Regions from separate parts of the Homo sapiens genome. Here regions 1 and 3 are each linked to region 2. The links are contacts of gene promoters, found by promoter capture Hi-C in blood cells and fetal thymus (Javierre and others, 2016). All regions are on one chromosome and are shown on one strand. Each heading gives the region's core, a stretch centred on a gene start or on the middle of the fragment in contact. The rest is flanking DNA. Distances are from core to core; before and after follow the strand shown. Region 1 holds the start of FASTKD2 (FAST kinase domains 2). Region 2 holds the start of TYW5 (tRNA-yW synthesizing protein 5). Region 3 holds the start of INO80D (INO80 complex subunit D).

Region 1 (2,700 bases), core at 100-2,599, 6.8 Mb after region 2:
CTTTTTGACCTTTGAGGGAATCCGTAAGATCTCGTGAGAAGCGCAGCTTCTCGGGGAAGCTGTCATGGCTGCTCCTGTACGTAGTCACGGTCTTGTGCTCTAAGGTGAGTGGAGGACGAGCTTGGGCTTAGCGGCAGCCCGTATCACATCCTAGACTTTTTACTTCGAGGAGAAGAGTCTCACGAGTTGTCCTGGAAGTAAGTTTAAAGGAGGTGGGTTAATGCTGGGCGGCCCAGCTGCGGAAGGACAGGCTCTTGAAGTTGGTTCTGGGGTCTGGTGAGGCTGGCTGGTTGTATAAGATCTTCCTCTTAAGCGCAGGCCACGTGCAGACATCGCTTTCGTTTTCTGCTTCTTCCACTGAGCCGTTCTACCTGCCCAGGTCCCTATTCTTGATGGTCTGGGTTCGGCCGTTGCTAAATCGTCATGTTGAAAATGATCTATCAGCCGGGCGCGGTGACTCACGCCTTGGGAGGCCGAGGCGGGTGGATTACCTGAGGTCAGGAGTTCAGGACCAGCCTGGCCAACATGGTGAAACTCCGTCTTTACAAAAAATACAAAAATTAGCCGGGCGTGGTGGCATACGCCTGTAATCCCAGCTACTTGGGAGGCTGAGACAGGAGAATTGCTTGAACCTGGGAGGTGGAGGTTGCAGTGAGCCAAGATCGCGCCACTGCACTCTAGCCTGGGGGACATAGCAAGACTTTGTCTCAAAAAAAAAAAAAAAAAAAAAAAAAACAGAGAAGAGAAAAGAAAATGATCTATCAATGCTAATCCCCTAATTTTCACCGAGGACATTTCCATAACAATGCCAACAAAAGTCTCTCCTACAGAGAAAGCTTTATGGAACGCTTTTGCACCAGAAAAATCTCATTAATACAATGACTACTTCCAAAGTGACCTGGCTTCTTTGAAACTGGACACATTGTGGTAGATTGGAGGGAGCCCACATTGGTAAAAAAAACTTTTACTGTTTTATGTAAATGTTTAATGGCTCCATAGGTTCCCCATTTTCTCTTCTGTTAAATGCATTTCATTTCTTTAAGTAAAAGTTTTGTTTTAATTTTTATTCTTTTCATTACTTCTTCCCCTACAGGAAAACGACAGCACGTGTTCTTTTTCACTAGTAGAAGTGACGTTGGTTTCATGTTGACAACTTTGAAGCCATTTGGAAGTGTTTCAGTGGAGAGCAAAATGAATAACAAAGCGGGCTCCTTTTTCTGGAACCTTAGACAATTCAGTACATTAGTTTCAACAAGCAGAACTATGAGGCTATGTTGTTTGGGACTTTGCAAACCAAAAATAGTTCATTCAAACTGGAACATTTTAAATAACTTTCATAACAGAATGCAATCAACTGATATCATTAGATATCTCTTTCAGGATGCATTCATTTTTAAATCAGATGTTGGCTTTCAAACAAAGGGCATAAGCACTCTAACAGCCCTTAGAATTGAAAGACTACTTTATGCTAAAAGACTGTTTTTTGACTCAAAGCAGTCTCTTGTCCCTGTTGATAAATCTGATGATGAATTGAAGAAAGTAAACCTTAATCATGAAGTCTCCAATGAAGATGTTCTTACCAAGGAAACAAAACCAAACCGTATCAGCAGTAGAAAACTGTCTGAGGAATGTAATTCCCTGAGTGATGTGTTAGATGCATTTTCAAAAGCGCCCACATTTCCTAGTAGCAACTATTTCACAGCAATGTGGACAATTGCCAAAAGACTGTCTGATGACCAGAAGCGCTTTGAAAAACGACTGATGTTTAGCCACCCTGCATTTAATCAGCTCTGTGAACATATGATGAGAGAAGCCAAGATCATGCAGTATAAGTACCTACTGTTCAGTCTTCACGCCATAGTGAAGCTTGGAATCCCTCAGAACACTATTTTGGTGCAGACTTTGCTGAGGGTGACCCAGGTAAAATAAAAAGGAGATTTAAACATGCATTTACTTGATTTAGAATATTTTGAAAGAATGAAGGGATATAGATATGTAGCCTTCTTAAAAGAGACTATCAAATGGAATGGTAGTTTCCTTTATATTTATTTCTGCATATATATTATATGATTTAGAGGCCTTAAGTTAGCTATTTTCTTCCTTTTGCTATGGAAATTTATGAAAGCCTTCCACATTTACCATCCCCAGGGTTGAGTAGTGGTGAAGAAGCTAAAGTGAGGAGAGATGCAAGATATACAAAGAAAGCCTGGGTAGTTGAAGAAGGAGAGAAGGGAAGGGGAAGGAAGAGAATTTAGTCCATGGTAGAATTGGAATTCAGGCCCAGTAGATGATACCTAAACTGATGAGCAGAATGATAGTGAAGGGGATGGTGTTTCAAGTAGAGAGGATTGCATGCCCTACTGTTCCCAGAGGAAAAGTTTGGCAAATTTGAAGAGCTGAAAGTAGTTTGGTGTAGCTGAAGCACAGAATGATGGAGTTGTATGTTTGAGTGGGTGGGAACAAGTTTTGTACATGGCGATCAAAGGAGAGGAGTGAGGGGCAAGAGGCTTAGGGGCAGAACAAGAGGCCAGAAAAATAGGAACCAAATCATAAAGAGCCTCTTACGGCTAGCTAAGGAGTATGCATTTATCCTGTAGGCAATGGGAATCCGTTGAAGAATTTTAAGCAATGGGTTGACGTGCTCAAATTTGTATTTTAGATCACTGAATGAGTGGAAGATGTATTGGAAGAAGGTTAAAA
Region 2 (2,700 bases), core at 41-2,540:
AGCAGATCCTCCGACCTCAGCCTCCAGAGTAGCTGGGAATACAGGCGTGCGCCACCACGCCCGGCTAATTTTTGTATTTTTTGTACAGACGGGGATTCACCATATTGGCCAGGCTGGTCTTGAACTCCTGACCTCAAGTGATCCACCGACCTGGGCCTCCCAAAATGTTAGGATTACTGGCATGAACCACGGCGCCCAGCCCATCCGACTTTTGTAACACTCAGAATTGTAGTTTTGTTTGTTTGTTTGAGACCGAGTTTAGCTCTTGTTGCCCAGGCTGGAGTGCAGTGGCGCGATCTCGGCTCACTGCAACCTCCGCCTCCCGGGTTCAAGCGATTCTCCTGCCTCAGCCTCCCGAGTAGCTGGGATTACAGGTATGGGCCACCACCATGCCCGGCTAATTTTGTATTTTTAGTAGAGATGGGATTTCTACTGGCTGGTCTTGAACTCCTGACCTCCGGTGATCCGTCCGCCTCGGCCTCGCAAAGTGCTGGGATTACAGGCGTGAGCCACCGCGCCCGGCCCCAGAACTGTAATTCTATGACCACCCTTATAAATGTAAATATCAGGTAAGAAAATTGCTGGGTATTTTTCCTACCATAAACTGACTTACTGTAATCCTGTGGATTTTTCCTTTTAATACCTTGTTTTTCTTAGGTCTGGACTCCCTTGAAAAGCACTGCAAGTAAAAGCACTTTTTGTTTCCCTAATATTTCTCTATGAGTTTTCTTTTAAAGACCTAAGGTTCTAACTACAGGTATAAAAGACTCCAATGTCGGAACTAGAACCTAAGTAAGTTAGAATTCAAGACGAGTAGGAGTTTTCCGGGGGAATCCCATTGCTTTCCTTTTTGGCTCAGTGGAGTGAAAAGTTGTGCCTTCAAATCCATTAATTCGGAGCAGACTGACAGATGCGGAGTAAAGAGTTTAGGCAAAATACCTCTCGCACTCAGCTCTCCGCCATCATCTTGCTCCCCAGAAACATGGGACTTTCTCCGGAAATTTCAATAGAGGAGCCAGTCGGCGTCCCCCGTGCACCTTTCCCTTGGTCTAAGGGCCAACCAGTGATCTGCTGCCGTCCTGCGCCTCTTTCCCACACCCTGGGTCTCTAAAAACCAGTTCCCAGCTGTCCGAAAGGTAAAGACGTGTCTCTCGCTGGTTTCTCGAGGTTCTGCCCCGCGCGAGGGCCTCACCTGTGGGTAGAGGTGCTGCATGAACTGCTCCCGAGAAACGCCCTCCAGCCGGGGTACCGGGAGGTGCTGCCCGGCCATGGTTGCTCACGCCTGCCCTCTTCCAGGTCTTCGGAACTTCGGCTCTAAAGCGTTCCTCAGCGCCATCCGCCCGGAAACACGAGCGACAGAGAAAAGGTCCGCGAGGCCGGCAGACTCCAGAGTGGCTGGGTCCGAGCGCGGGGCGGGTTGCCGAAGGGCCTCGGCCTGGGCTGCGTGCTGGAGAGCGGGGACGGGGCCGACTCACCAGAGGCTGCAGCAACAGGTCCACTTTGCTCTCCAGTCTCTTTCTCCGACACCGCTGAGGCGGTTTCCCACCGACTTCCTTTCCATACAGCACCGGCAGGCACCGGTGTGAAGGGTCATAAAAATGGCGCTGGCCGCTCGTTTGCTACCCCAGTTCCTGCACTCTCGGTCGCTGCCCTGCGGGGCCGTCCGACTCCGGACTCCTGCTGTGGCCGAGGTGAGGCTGCCGTCGGCCACACTTTGCTACTTCTGCCGCTGTCGCCTCGGCTTGGGAGCGGCGTTATTTCCACGAAGCGCTAGGGCCTTGGCAGCCTCGGCGCTACCTGCCCAGGGCTCCCGGTGGCCAGTGCTCAGCAGCCCGGGACTCCCCGCAGCCTTCGCTTCTTTCCCTGCCTGCCCTCAGCGCAGCTACAGCACGGAGGAGAAGCCCCAGCAGCACCAGAAAACCAAGATGATCGTCCTGGGATTCTCCAACCCCATCAACTGGGTTAGGACTCGAATTAAGGCCTTCCTTATCTGGGCCTATTTCGACAAAGAGTTCAGCATCACAGAGTTCTCCGAGGGAGCGAAGCAGGTTTGTTTATTTCCCTGATTGACCTATCCGTCTCTAATGAGTTCAACTATTGCTCGCAGAAGTGCTTAGCAGTGAGTTTTCTTCACTGGGATACAAGTGATCAAACGTGATTAGTGGCCCAGACATAGAGCCTTCCAGCCATTGCTTGACTTAAAGTAAGCTTCTGGGCCGGGAATGGTGGTACACGCCTGTAGTCTCAGCTACTTGGGAGGCTGAAGGGGAGGATCGCTTGAACCCAGGAGTTGGACGTTGTAGTGAGCTGTGATCGTGCCATTGCACTCCAGCCTGGGATACAGAGCCAGGCCCTGTCTCAGAAAGAAAAAGCTATATGGCTCATCTTGTCTGAACATAATTTTCAAATTTACAAAGTGGGCAAGACAATGCCTGGCACATAGTAGGCACTCCATGAATGTTTGCTGAATACATTAATAAATGGGTAAGATTGAAGAATAATTGAGATAACATTTCCAAAGTGCTGTAATGTCACCTTGGGTAGAAGAGCAGAACTTCCTGCCAGCTATTAGACAGAGCCGACCAATACACCACCCCATACTCCGTAAAGATTAAACTGGAGATGAGCAATTTTACCCTTTCAAAGGATTTGCTGAGACTGCCTGGTGGCTAAGTGCACAGCACCCTGCACACAGAAAAT
Region 3 (2,700 bases), core at 154-2,653, 6.1 Mb after region 2:
ACACCCCCAGTTGGTGGGGTAAGGGCTAAAAAAGGCAATAGGGAAAGATTGTCCGGCAGAAACACCACCTGAGTTTACCTCCTCCTTCCCACCCCAAAAACCCAGTCACTAACTAATAAAGCTAAGAAAAGCCCCTTGCAAACTTTTCCAAACCGGAAGAGAAGGCCCTCTCCCCAACCTGGGGGGCTCTAGGGGGAAGGGGCTGGAGTTAGCAGCCCCGAATGGGCTCGCGGGGAGTTGGGTGGGGCGCGGGCGAGGGGTGCAGGGGCGGAGTACCTTCTTCAATGGACAGGAACTGGCAAAGAGTTTCAAAATAGCCGAGTGCGCTCCCCCACGCCCTGGGGGGTCCCGGGCGCTAGGACCAGGGCTCCCCGGAGAGACAGCGGCCCCCAGTTCGGGCCTAAAAGGAAACTTTCTGGGCCGCGGCTGCACCTGACTCCTCACCGCCCCTCCACCCGACCCCACGCCCGCCAGGCCGCCCGCCCCGCCCCGCCCCGGCCTGGCCGTCCGGAGCGCGGAGGAGGGGGATAAATAAATTCAACTCTTACCGGAATCTGGGGGCCGTCTGCGAGAGACCCGGGGGAAGGGGAGCCGGGCGCCCATTCCCCACTCCCCACTCCTAGGCCCTGACGCCCCTGTCCCGGCAGCCCGGGCCTGCCGCCCCGCGGGAAAGCCTCCGGGCCGGCGCGGGATTCGGCCCAGCAGCGCCGCCGTCCCACCCGGAGACCCCGGGGGACTCGAGGGGGCGCGCGGAGGCCCGGGGTGCGGGGGCAGGGCGCGGCTGCCGTGGGGCCTACCGGCCCGAGGCCTACCGGCGCCCCCCCCTCCCGCCGCACACCCCCACCTGGCCCGCGCAGGCCGCTCCGCTCGCCCCACTCCGGCTCCGGCTGGACCCCTGCCCGCCCGCCGTCGCCGCCCGCGGGCGCCCCGGAGGCCCTCAGGCCCCCGGCCTCCACCACCCGGGCGCCGGCCCCACTCACCCTTTCATTCTCCGCCCGGGGCCTGGCGTGGGCCGGCGAATCCCCGGCCTCACGTAAGCGCGCTCGCCGCCCGCCCAGCCTGCGCGGCCCAGCCCGCCGCCCTACGGGAGCCCGGGGATGTGGGCCGGGCCTGGGGCCGCCTCTGCTTACCTTTCAGCTGCTTTTTTTTTTCTCCTTCCCCCCTGTTCCCTCGGCTGGGCTGACAGATCAGAGTGAGAGGCGCTGGCAATGGACTAGGAAGCTCGGCTGCCGCTGCTACTGCTCCCCCCTGGGCTCCGGCGAGAGCCTTTCCCTGTCAAGCAAGAGGGGTGAGGATCATATTTTTATTTTGGAAACTAAAAAGTGCTCCCAGGGTCGGTGATTATTAAGGGGAAATCCCTGAATATACTCTCCAGCCAAGAAGGCAGGGCTGCCGGGGCTGTACAAGAAGAGGCAGCAGCCTCCTACAGCACCACTACAGGCACTGCGAGGACATAACACCAGAGAGCTGCTCCTCTGCCCTCCGAAACGACAACTTTCCTACCATCTTGGAGGCAGAGCAAAGGGGGGCCAGGGGGAAAAGTGCACCCGCTCCCGATAAAGTACAAATTTTTACTTCTCATCTCTGGAAAAAAGTCCACACCGGCCGTCTACACCCGCGCCTGGGGGAGAAAGCAGGGAAGAAACGGGGGGTGCATGAGAAACGTTTTCATTTGCTCCAGGGGGAAAAATGTTTCTGCATCTTCTGATGGAAAGAAATCTTTACAAGACACAGGTTTTCCGGTGGTTATTGTTTTTTATTTTCTGTTTTTAATTTTTTTCATGTTAGTGACAGTGATATTTTAATATTTTTTTAAGCCAGTAATAATTTTTCTCCATTACAGGGCTAAGTTCTGTGGCTGGTGGTCAGTTTGTAAATTTATACTTAAAGAGACTTAATAGTAACTTCATTTATTTGTCTGGTTATGTTATTGTATATATAAATATTTATGTTTTCATATATTGCATATAAAAATTTGTGTTACATGTTACTCTCAGAACAGATTGCTGTAAGACAATTGTAAAAAAACATGTCTTTCGTCTGTTTCTCAAAGCAATGTAAATAAAACCTATGGACTGTCCAGAAAGGCATGATACAGTGTGTCATTTTCCACAGTGCAGATAAAGGCAGCTATCACTGGGGATTTAAAAACGGCCCCTGTTTCTGGAAATTCTGTTATGCTGCCCATACAGAAAGGATACAGTAAAACTGGAAAGAGATTTTAAAGACAGCCTTAGATTTTTCTTGAGGTAAAATAGCTTATTAAGAATTATATCCGGGCATTTAATTTTTTTATTTATTTAGATTCTTTAAACTCTAGCTAGATCTTTGGTGCATTACACATGTTGCTATCTGCTTTTTGTGTCACAGAATTGAGAAATGTGGCTATTTTTGTTAGTTATGTTAGTTCAGAACTTCCAATGTGCTGCCAGCCTGTATGATAGACTTTTTGTATATTGCAGTGGATGTCATGAATTTACTTTTTTAAATGAGCAAAGCTTACTAGATAAATGGGATCAGAGTTAAACAATGCTGTTAGCACAGAGGTGAGAGGGACAAAGGGTACCCATTTACATCGATTCCAATAGAACGCTTATTGGAGGATAAATTGCAGAGACATTTTTCTATTTTTGTGAAGAAAGAGAAAAATAATAGAAAAAGAACCGACTATCTTTGTATGTTCTACTGGGGATGATGATT

What was found. The method cuts DNA at HindIII sites, captures the fragments that hold promoters and counts their contacts. A CHiCAGO score of 5 or more calls a contact.
Region 1: a fragment that was not itself captured here is called in contact with the fragment with the promoter of TYW5 in region 2 in 1 of 17 cell types (non-activated CD4 T cells); the score reaches 5.4 in non-activated CD4 T cells.
Region 3: the fragment with the promoter of INO80D here is called in contact with the fragment with the promoter of TYW5 in region 2 in 5 of 17 cell types (naive CD8 T cells, total CD4 T cells, total B cells and 2 more); the score reaches 10.9 in naive CD8 T cells.

What each region holds. Positions count from the first base shown.
Region 1 is chr2:206,765,551-206,768,250 of GRCh38, forward strand. FASTKD2 (FAST kinase domains 2) reads left to right here and starts at 56. Exons shown (of 12, transcript NM_001136193.2): 1 at 56-197; 2 at 1,094-1,920. The coding sequence starts at 1,144. RefSeq lists an enhancer at 1-326. The HindIII fragment of the contact is 1,030 bases long and covers 835-1,864 here.
Region 2 is chr2:199,954,201-199,956,900 of GRCh38, forward strand. It overlaps TYW5 (tRNA-yW synthesizing protein 5), which reads right to left and starts at 1,291. Exons shown (of 8, transcript NM_001039693.3): 1 at 1,193-1,291. The coding sequence starts at 1,270. MAIP1 (matrix AAA peptidase interacting protein 1) reads left to right here and starts at 1,382. Exons shown (of 5, transcript NM_001394955.1): 1 at 1,382-2,048. The coding sequence starts at 1,599. RefSeq lists enhancers at 935-2,134, 1,245-1,364, 1,535-1,694, 1,715-1,814. The HindIII fragment of the contact is 7,808 bases long and covers 1-2,206 here.
Region 3 is chr2:206,084,771-206,087,470 of GRCh38, forward strand. INO80D (INO80 complex subunit D) reads right to left here and starts at 1,404. Exons shown (of 11, transcript NM_017759.5): 1 at 1,131-1,404. INO80D-AS1 (INO80D antisense RNA 1) reads left to right here. Exons shown (of 2, transcript NR_186084.1): 2 at 1,187-2,700. RefSeq lists silencers at 135-429, 331-380, 421-620, 641-810, 891-1,100 and enhancers at 1,151-1,440, 1,167-1,986, 1,491-1,540, 1,551-1,660. The HindIII fragment of the contact is 4,007 bases long and covers 1-2,496 here.